3 separate regions of the Homo sapiens genome follow, and all the other regions are linked to region 3. Evidence: promoter capture Hi-C in human tissues and cell types (Jung and others, 2019). All regions are on one chromosome and are shown on one strand. Each heading gives the region's core, a stretch centred on a gene start or on the middle of the fragment in contact. The rest is flanking DNA. Distances are from core to core; before and after follow the strand shown. Region 1 holds the start of NPLOC4 (NPL4 homolog, ubiquitin recognition factor). Region 2 holds the start of MRPL12 (mitochondrial ribosomal protein L12). Region 3 holds the start of DCXR (dicarbonyl and L-xylulose reductase).

Evidence for each region. The method cuts DNA at HindIII sites, captures the fragments that hold promoters and counts their contacts. A contact is called where the count stands out against the background at its distance.
Region 1: the fragment with the promoter of NPLOC4 here is called in contact with the fragment with the promoter of DCXR in region 3 in 1 of the 25 tissues and cell types used here (mesenchymal stem cells).
Region 2: the fragment with the promoter of MRPL12 here is called in contact with the fragment with the promoter of DCXR in region 3 in 2 of the 25 tissues and cell types used here (lymphoblastoid cells and mesendoderm cells).

The regions. Positions count from the first base shown.
Region 1 is chr17:81,635,165-81,638,576 of GRCh38, forward strand. It overlaps NPLOC4 (NPL4 homolog, ubiquitin recognition factor), which reads right to left and starts at 1,948. Exons shown (of 17, transcript NM_017921.4): 1 at 1,752-1,948. The coding sequence starts at 1,766. It overlaps TSPAN10 (tetraspanin 10), which reads left to right and starts at 2,032. Exons shown (of 4, transcript NM_001290212.2): 1 at 2,032-2,242. RefSeq lists a silencer at 1,678-1,887. The HindIII fragment of the contact is 41,196 bases long and covers 1-3,412 here.
Region 2 is chr17:81,701,917-81,704,616 of GRCh38, forward strand. It overlaps MRPL12 (mitochondrial ribosomal protein L12), which reads left to right and starts at 1,451. Exons shown (of 5, transcript NM_002949.4): 1 at 1,451-1,659; 2 at 2,328-2,514. The coding sequence starts at 1,586. HGS (hepatocyte growth factor-regulated tyrosine kinase substrate) reads left to right here. Exons shown (of 22, transcript NM_004712.5): 22 at 1-205. RefSeq lists enhancers at 331-934, 879-948, 935-1,538 and a silencer at 1,439-1,818. The HindIII fragment of the contact is 19,787 bases long and covers 1-2,700 here.
Region 3 is chr17:82,036,346-82,038,946 of GRCh38, forward strand. It overlaps DCXR (dicarbonyl and L-xylulose reductase), which reads right to left and starts at 1,352. Exons shown (of 8, transcript NM_016286.4): 1 at 1,286-1,352; 2 at 1,105-1,202; 3 at 514-668; 4 at 376-418; 5 at 199-298; 6 at 39-103. The coding sequence starts at 1,337. It overlaps DCXR-DT (DCXR divergent transcript), which reads left to right and starts at 1,573. Exons shown (of 2, transcript NR_159948.1): 1 at 1,573-1,923. RefSeq lists a silencer at 743-1,572. The HindIII fragment of the contact is 8,854 bases long and covers 1-2,601 here.

The sequences.
Region 1 (3,412 bases), core at 698-3,197, 400 kb before region 3:
CCCCATCACCACTAAAAATAAAAAAGACATCAGCCATGCGTGTTGGCGAGCACCTGCAACCCCAGCTACTCGGCTGAGGCAGGAGAATTTCTTGAACCCGAGAGGCGGAGGTTGCAGTAAGCAGAGATCGCACCACTGAACTCCAGCCTGGGCGACAGAGTGAGACTCCATCTCAAAAAAATAAAATAAGGTTAAAAAAAAAAAAAAAAAAGGAGTCGACGTTTCCTAAGTTTCTCCTGGGCCATATATTCATTCCACTCATCTCCAGGTTGGGAAACATGGAGGCACCAAGAGGGCCCCTGACTGGAGAGATGATGGAACCACCAGAGAACAGCCTTGCAAATAAGTGCTAGGTTCTCCTGGAGACCCATTTGTTTGTGTGTGTGAGACAGTCTCATTCTGTCGCCCAGGGTGGAGTCCAGTGACGCCACCTAGGCTCACTATGTTGTCCAGGCTGGTCTTGAACTCCTGACCTCAGGTGATCCACCCACCTGGGCTTCCCAAAGTGCTGGGATTACAGGTGTGAGTCACCGCGCCGGGCCTGGAGACCTATTCTAGACAACACCTGGCAAAACTGCAGAGACTGTCACAATGCTACAGTATGAACATTACTCTTCACCCAATACTGCTAAGCTTCCCCCAGAAATCCCAAATCTTCCTTAATATTAACCAAAATGCTCCTGTCCAATGGTCAGTTAGTTTTTTTCCCATCACATTTACTTTTGGGAAGAAACTTCTCACAACTTAACGAGGGACTGGTTTTCTGATTTGTCACTGATATTTTTTACGTTAAGGAGGAGTGTGTGACAATTTTTTTTTTTTTTTTGAGACGCAGTCTCGCTCTATAGCCCAGGCTGGAGTGCCATGGAGGGATCTCAGCTCACTGTAACCTCCACCTCCCGCGTTCAAGCAATTCTCCTGCCTCAGCCTCCCAAGTATCTGGGATTACAGTGCGCCATGACGCCCGGCTAATTTTTTGTATTTTTAGTAGAGACAAGATTTTGCCATGTTGGCCAGGATGGTCTCGAACTCCTGACCCCAGGTGATCCACCCGCCTCGGCCTCCCAAAGTGCTGACATCACAGGCGTGAGCCACTGCGCCGGGCCGACAATTTCAATTTCAGGTAAAAAGTGAAATCAACATCATTTACAACATTCCTTTTAAAGAGGAATTGTCAAGTTGTCCTTCCAAGTAAGGAGCAAAGCCGGCAAGTTACTGTGTTTTCATTTTCCCAGGTCTTCTGGTGGGGAGGGAGCTCTGTAACGTCCCCGTCTGCAGAGCTGCTCTCCTTAGTGACTCATGACAAGGCACTTGCTGGGAAGCGGGAGAGCAGGAGGAGAGAATCAGAGGGAGATTAGGATAAGAGGTGTCCCTGGCTCTGAGAGGGGCAGGACTGGCTGGGAGTCCCTGGAATTAGACCAGGAAGTCTCCTGGAGCCGGGAAACGGGTGGGGAAGGAGGGCGGTTTCTCTTCGCCACAGTCCATTCTCCCTGCTTAGAAAGGCTCGGCCTTTCCCTGCCCAGGGCGGGGAACCGGGGTCGTAAGTCCCCTGGGGAGGGACACGGACGGGAAGCAGCCGAGGGGGGTGAAAGTCCCCGAGAGGGGCCCAGCCACTACAGAGAAAGCCCTGGCGAGAGAAGAGAAAGGGGCCGAGTCGCGGCGCCGGCAGGCCCGCCTCCCCCACAGGCCGAGGCCGGCAAATCTGCTGCCTCATCCCGGCGTCCCCGCTCCCGCCCGGCCGCCGCACTCACGATGCTCTCGGCCATGGCGGCTGCTCCTGCCTCCGGGCTCGAGCCCCGGGCCGCCGCCGCCTGCCGCCCCAAGGGCCTCGCAGACCCGGCCGCGGCCTCAGCCCCGGCCCCGGCCTCCCTACGCCGCCGCCACCGCCGCTCCAGCTTCGCCCGCCCGGCTCCGCCAGCCGCCGACGTCCCGGTGCCTCGCTCAATACGCTCCCCTCGGGCGCGAGGCCGGGAAACCAGGTTCCGGCCCCACCAACGGCTCGACGCATGCGCAGGGCGGCGCCGCTGACCCGCCCCCGCCATCCCTGCAACTGGAGGAGGGGATTTTGGAAAGTTGCGTCTGAGATTACTTCTGCTCGTCCTCGGAAACCCAAGCGGCACAGGAAAGTCCAAAAAGGAAGCAAAGACGAGCATCCGAAGTCTCACCCAAAAATAACTACTGCTGCGTATTATAGCGTATTATAATTGGGGAAACAGCATTCCAAACTTCTCTCCATGCACAGGTAAGTAGAGAAACAATTTCAGGAAGGCAGGATCACACCTTCATGTTTTTTTTTTTAAGTATTTTTTAAATTTAACATAAGAAAAACAAACGAGTTTAAACTGCATTTCAGGCCGGGCGCGGTGGCTCATACCTGTAATCCCAGCATTTTGGGAAGCCAAGGTGGACGGATCACCTGAGGTCAAAAGTTCGAGACCAGCCTGGCCAAAATGGTGAAACCCCGTCTCTACTCAAAATACAAAATTAGGCCATACGCGGTGGCTCACGCCTGTAATCCCAGCACTTTGGGAGGCCGAGGCAGGTGGATCACCTGAGGTCAGGAGTTCAAGACCAGCCTGACCAACGTGGTGAAACCCCGTCTCTACTAAAAATACAAAAATTAACTGGGCGTGGTGGCGGGCACCTGTAATCCCAGCTACTCGGGAGTCTGAGGCCGGAGAATCTCTTGAAGCGAAGAGGCGGAGGTTAGAATGAACTGAGTTGGTGCCACTGCACTCCAGTCTGGGCGACAGAGTGAGACTTCATCTCAAAAAAAAAAAAAAAAGACGTCACTTCACAGATTCTAAGGATTTTTGGAGTTGGATACCAGGAAACCGGAAGACTAAATGTATACATATTTCACAACATCACAATTACTGTGACAGTTTTTTTAAACTATGTTAAATTACATTAATTGATTAAATTATGTTAGTAATTGTATTAGTTTGCTCAGGGTGCCACTGTAACTACCCAACATATTGTCCCTGCCCACTGCCTAGACTTTATCAAGACAGGGGAATTGCAATAAAGAGTTTAATTCACACAGAGCCAGCTTGTACAGGTTACTGAGGTTTTATTACTACTCAAAAAAAATTAGTGTCCTTGAGAATTCAGGGATCAGAGTTTTTTGTTTTTTGTTTTTTTTTGTTTTTGAGTCCGAATCTCACTCTGTCACCCACACTGGAGTGCAGTGGCGCGATCTCGGCTCACTGCAACCTTCACCTCCTGGGTTCCAGTGATTCTCCTGCCTCAGCCTCCCGGGTAGCTGGGACTACAGGCGCACACTACCATGCCTGGCTAATTTTGTATTTTTCGTAGAGACGGAGTTTCTCCATGTTGGTCAGGCTGGTCTTGAACTCCTGACCTCAGGTGATCCGCCCACCTGGGCCTCCCCAAAGTGCTGGGACTATAG
Region 2 (2,700 bases), core at 201-2,700, 330 kb before region 3:
CACCCCCCAAGCAGCCTGTGCCCTCTGGCCGCACTGTGAGCTGGCTGTGGTGTCTGGGTGTGGCCTGGGGCTCCCTCTGCAGGGGCCTCTCTCGGCAGCCACAGCCAAGGGTGGAGGCTTCAGGTCTCCAGCTTCTCTGCTTCTCAGCTGCCATCTCCAGTGCCCCAGAATGGTACAGCGATAATAAAATGTATTTCAGAAAGCATCAGCGTTTTTTCTTTAATTAATTTTTTTGAGATGGAGTCTCACTCTGTCACCCAGGCTGGAGTGGTGATCTCCGCTCACTGCAAGCTCCGCCTCCTGGGTTCAAGCGATTCTCGGGCCTCAGCCTCCCGAGTAGCTGGACTACAGGTGCACCCCATTACCATGCCTGGCTAGTTTTTGTATTTTTAGTAGCGACGGTGTTTCACCATGTTGGCCAGGCTGGTCGTGAACGCCTAACCTCAGGTGATCCACCTGCCTCGGGCTCCTAAAGTGCTGGGATTACAGGCATGAGCCACCGCGCCCGACCTGCATCAACGTTTGCTCAGGGGGCAGGTGGTCAGGCTGATGGCCCAGCTGCAGGCAGGGTCATTTCCAGCCTGCCCCTCCCTGAGGCTGCGTGCCAGGGTTCATGTGTGCCCTCCGCGGCTCTGCACTGACCCCGCCGGTAGCTGGGGAGGAGTTTGGGCTTGGCGCCTCCTTCGTGTAGTGGCTGAAGCTTCCCGGGTGCTCCTCATTCCTGGGAAGGGAGTCGGGTGATGGGAACGGTGGGAGCTCAGCGCTCCGAGTCTGCGGCCGGGGGCCAGCGGGGCTGAAACGCGCCTCCTGAGTGTTGAAAGCGGCAGGCGCCGGCCTTTGCACCCAGAGGCCAGGGCGTCTCACTCACCTTCACATCCAGGCCTCTTAGGGGAGCGCGGCTTTGGCTTTTCCAGGAAGGAATGGACTCCAACGGACAGGGAAAGAAGAAGTGTGGAGAGACGGGCAGGATAAGCAGGCACTGGGCCCAAGCCGCCCTTGGAGGCTCTGCCTGTTCTGATCTGAAGGCGGAGGCTCAGCCGTGCTCTCCCAGGAAGCCACCTGGGCGTTTGGGGCTTTAGCTAGGAAAGAGGATGTCGCCTGCGGCTGCGAAGGCGCCAAAGCCCAGACCTCGCGCCTCCGCCCGCGACGGCGGCACTGGGGGCCCGGAGCGGGCGGGAGACGTGGATTACTGCGGGCTTCGGGGCCCTAGCCTCGACCGCGACGTTCGCTCGCATCGCGTACGGACAGAAACCCGTGAGCGCTGAAGAAAGAACACCTGAATCCGGAGCCCCAGCCCCCGTCGCTCGTTTGCGCGACCCCAAAACCTGGCGGGACGAGGGTCGCCCGATGTCTAGCTGCCGCCACAGACGACGCTTTTGCGTCTGCGCAGCGCGCCGCCTTGTGGGTAATCTCAGGGTGAGACGAGGCTAGCGCGAGGTACGGCTAGAGCGTCATTTCCGGCTCGAATGCCCGGCAGCCGTGGCGGCTAGAGCGTTCCTCCCCAGCTCGAATGCCCGGCGGCCGAGGCGGCTAGAGCGTCGCCTCCTCCCGGGGAACCGCGTGTGACCTTCCAGCCCGCGGACCGATGCTGCCGGCGGCCGCTCGCCCCCTGTGGGGGCCTTGCCTTGGGCTTCGGGCCGCTGCGTTCCGCCTTGCCAGGTACGCGGGATCCTGGGGCGGTCCGGGCCGGCAGGCGGGTTAGGGGGCAGCCGGGCACTGAGGGGTCGATCCGGGCGAGGAGGGCGGCGGGGCCGGCCTCCCTGCAGCGGCCAGGCCGGGCTTGGGGGTCCCATCGGGGGCGCGGGGAGGAGGCCTCCCGGTGCGCACGCCCCTTCCCTCCTGGGCCGTGGAAAGCGCCGGGGTCGGCCCCAGATGACCTTGGACGATTCCCTGCTCCTCCCTTGGCCTCAGCCTTTTCCGCAGCAAAGGCCCATCCGTGGGTGCGGCGTTTTGCGGCCAGGGGCCCCCATGTTTTGGGAGGCTTTGCGCAGGAAGATGCACCTAAGTAATAGTTTCGCCACCGCTGGGTTGATGTAGTTCATTCAAACCAGAAACTTGAGGTTTGAGTGGTATGGCTGCAAATAAACACGTGGCTTTCTAAGGCTCTTTGAAGAATTTAAAGTAACTTGCAAATCTTATCAATACGGACCCCTTGAGGTCTGAGAACCCTGGACTGGGACCAAGGAGCTAGGTAATTTCCGGCCCTAGTGATTACCAGCCTGAGCTTATGGCACCCACCAGTCCCCCAGTTGTCCTGCCCCTCTGGTTTCTGCAGCCCCTTCCATTCCAGGACTGACAAGTCTGTTTTAATTGGGGGTGGGGGCTAGGCGACAGGTGCCATGTGTCTGTGCCGTGCGACATATGAGGAGCAGCGGCCATCAGAGGTGTGAGGCCCTCGCTGGTGCACCCCTGGATAACGCCCCCAAGGAGTACCCCCCCAAGATACAGCAGCTGGTCCAGGACATCGCCAGCCTCACTCTCTTGGAAATCTCAGACCTCAACGAGCTCCTGAAGGTATCGTGAGAGGGTGGCACAGACCCAGGGGCTGGAAGTTTCAGGGCCCCTGTGTTTTGTTCCTGGTGTATTTTGGGAGTTTGGTAAATTGTCAAAAGTGTGTTTGTCCAGGTGCAAGGTCCATGCCAGGCTAGTTGCCCCTCCTCAGTAGGTTCCGGCTGGTGTGAGGGCCAGCTGTGGACACTG
Region 3 (2,601 bases), core at 102-2,601:
GTGTCCTAGGTTGGGGGAGGTACCCCAGCCCTGCTCACCTTGTGGGGCCCGAGCTCTAGGGCCATCACCTTGGTCAGCATGTCCAGGGCACCCTTGGTGGAGCCTACGAAGAGGAACCCAAGCTGGCTGGGGCTGGGGTCGGTGATGAGGGCGAGGCTGGGGCTGGGGTGGGGCTGAGGGCACAGCTGGGGCACTCACAGTAGACGCTATGGTTAGTTACTGCCCGCTGGGAGCACTGGCTGGAGACATTCACGATGGCCCCTGGGACTCCCCGGGCTATTAAGCCCCTGGCCACAATCTGGAATCGCAGCGAGACCGTGAGGCAGAGCTGGCATCACTCACGAGAATTCCCGTCCAGCCCACAGGGCAGCTCACCTGCGACACCTGGATGACCGCACGCAGGTTCACCTCAAAGGATCTAGAGGCCGAGGGACAGACCCTGGTCAGAGATTAGGGCTGCTGCGTCCTCCAGGACAGCCCCTCCCTGAGGTTCCTCCGCCCTCACAGGCTCACCTGTCAAAGGCCTCCTTGGTGACCTCCAGGAAGGGCTGCAGCAGGGCGACAGCGGCGTTGTTCACCAGCAGGTCCACGGGGCCCACGCTGCCCAGCGCCCGCTCGGTGGCCTCCCAGTCACCCAGGTCCACGCACACGGGTTCTATCCCCGGGCACTGTGTGTATCAGGGGGCAGTTACCAGAGGCTCTGTGCCCAGCAAGCGGCACAGCTGGGGACTGGGGCTGGTGACCTTTCAGCCGGACAAGTAAAGGAGTTAGGAGTTCCGAAGGTGTCGGGACTGTGGGGCCAGCAGCCGGGCGCTACCTCCGGCCGGTTCACTTCCTCCCTGCGCCCGAGCGACTCCTGCCCGGGGCCTGCTTCGCAGCCATTTCGGCCTCTTTCTGAGCCCGGGGGCCCCGGCGGCTCTGCCGACCACCCGGCCGCCCACGCAGGCCACCAGCCCCGAGAGAGGGTGCGCGGGCGCCCAGGCCGCGGTGAGAAGCGCAGCGCCCGCGAGGGGAGGCGGAGTCGCGCACAGAGGTACCGCCCCCGCTCGCTGCCGCCCCCTCCTGGCTCGCCGCCTCGCAGCGCTGGGACCCGGCGGGACCTACCTCGCGGACAAGGCTGTCAAGATCCGCCTGAGTCCGGCTCACAGCCACCACCCGCGCGCCCGTCGCGTGCAGCGCCTGGACCGTGCCGCGCCCTATACCTGCCGGGAGCGGGCTCAGTGAAGGCGTCCCCTGCCCGCCTCTGCCCGCCGCCGGCCTTTGCCCACCTTTCCCCGCCGCCCACCTTTGCCTGCCCCGGTGACCAGCACCCGGCGGCCCGCGAGGAACAGCTCCATGTCGGCGCAGTCTCCGCCCTCCGCACTGGGGCTGCGGAACTTGAAGCTCTGGCCACGATGGGCGGGGCGCGGCGGGGCCAATGGCAGGGCGGCCTTCAGATAGGCGGTGGGGACATTCAAATAGCTGCTCCCCGCTGCAGTGATTGGCCGAAAGGAGTGGGCGCGCCGGGGCGGGGCGGGGTCTCCGCTGCCTCAGGGACGGGTCTTTTGAAGTGCCTGGTGTGACCCATCTTCCGTGCTTGAAATCGACGTAGTGGACCCTGGCTAGCATATTTTTCCCTGCCAAGATTATTGCAAAAAGACGATGTGGTGGTTAATATCGGAAAGAATGTGTGGTTAATATCAGGAAGAACACGTGAAATGGAGAATTTCAGGGCTAACATTTCTTGTTTTGTTTCTGAAAACATCGGCATGTCCTAAAAAGTGTCGCCTGTGCCCATCATCTCTCAGGCTTGGGAGCAGGACACCGCCGGCTCACTTTAAAGCCAAGGGAAAGAATTTGGACAACCAACTACGTCTGGAGAAGACACCAATGTCAGCAGAGCTCCGCTTTCATCTGTGGGCGAAGGATTACCTAGATGCCAAGGCAAGAGACTGAAGACACAAACTGTTTCAGTATAACAAAGAAAATAGGCCGGGAGCGGTGGCTCACGCCTGTAATCCCAGCACTTTGGGAGGCCGAGGCGGGTGGATCACGAGGTCAGGAGATCGAGACCATCCTGGCTAACACGGTGAAACCCCATCTCTACTAAAAATACAAAAAATTAGCCGGGCGCGGTGGCGGGCACCTGTAGTCCCAGCTACTCAGGAGGCTGAGGCAGGAGAATGGCGCGAACCCAGGAGGCGGAGCTTGCAGTGAGCCGAGATTGCGCCACTGCACTCCAGCCTGGGCGACAGAGCAAGACTCCATCTTTAAAAAAAAAACAGTTAAAATAAAAATAGTCATAATACAAATTAGATATAAAAATGATCATGATCATGGATAATTATCAATCATTAGTATAAACATTATTAATCATTAGCTTTTAATATTACTCTTTGTTGCATTACTAATATAACCTAGGGACATTGTGAGAAGTGACCTAGAAGGCAAGAGGTGAGCCCTCTGTCACTCCCGCATAAGGGCTGCTTGAGGGCTCCTTGGTCAAGCAGTAATGCCGTTGTCTGGGAAGCCACCCGTTACTTAGAAGACTGCGAAGGGGAGTCTCCTTTCCTTGGAGGCGTCAGGGAACACTCTGCTCCACCAGCTTCTTGTGGGAGGCTG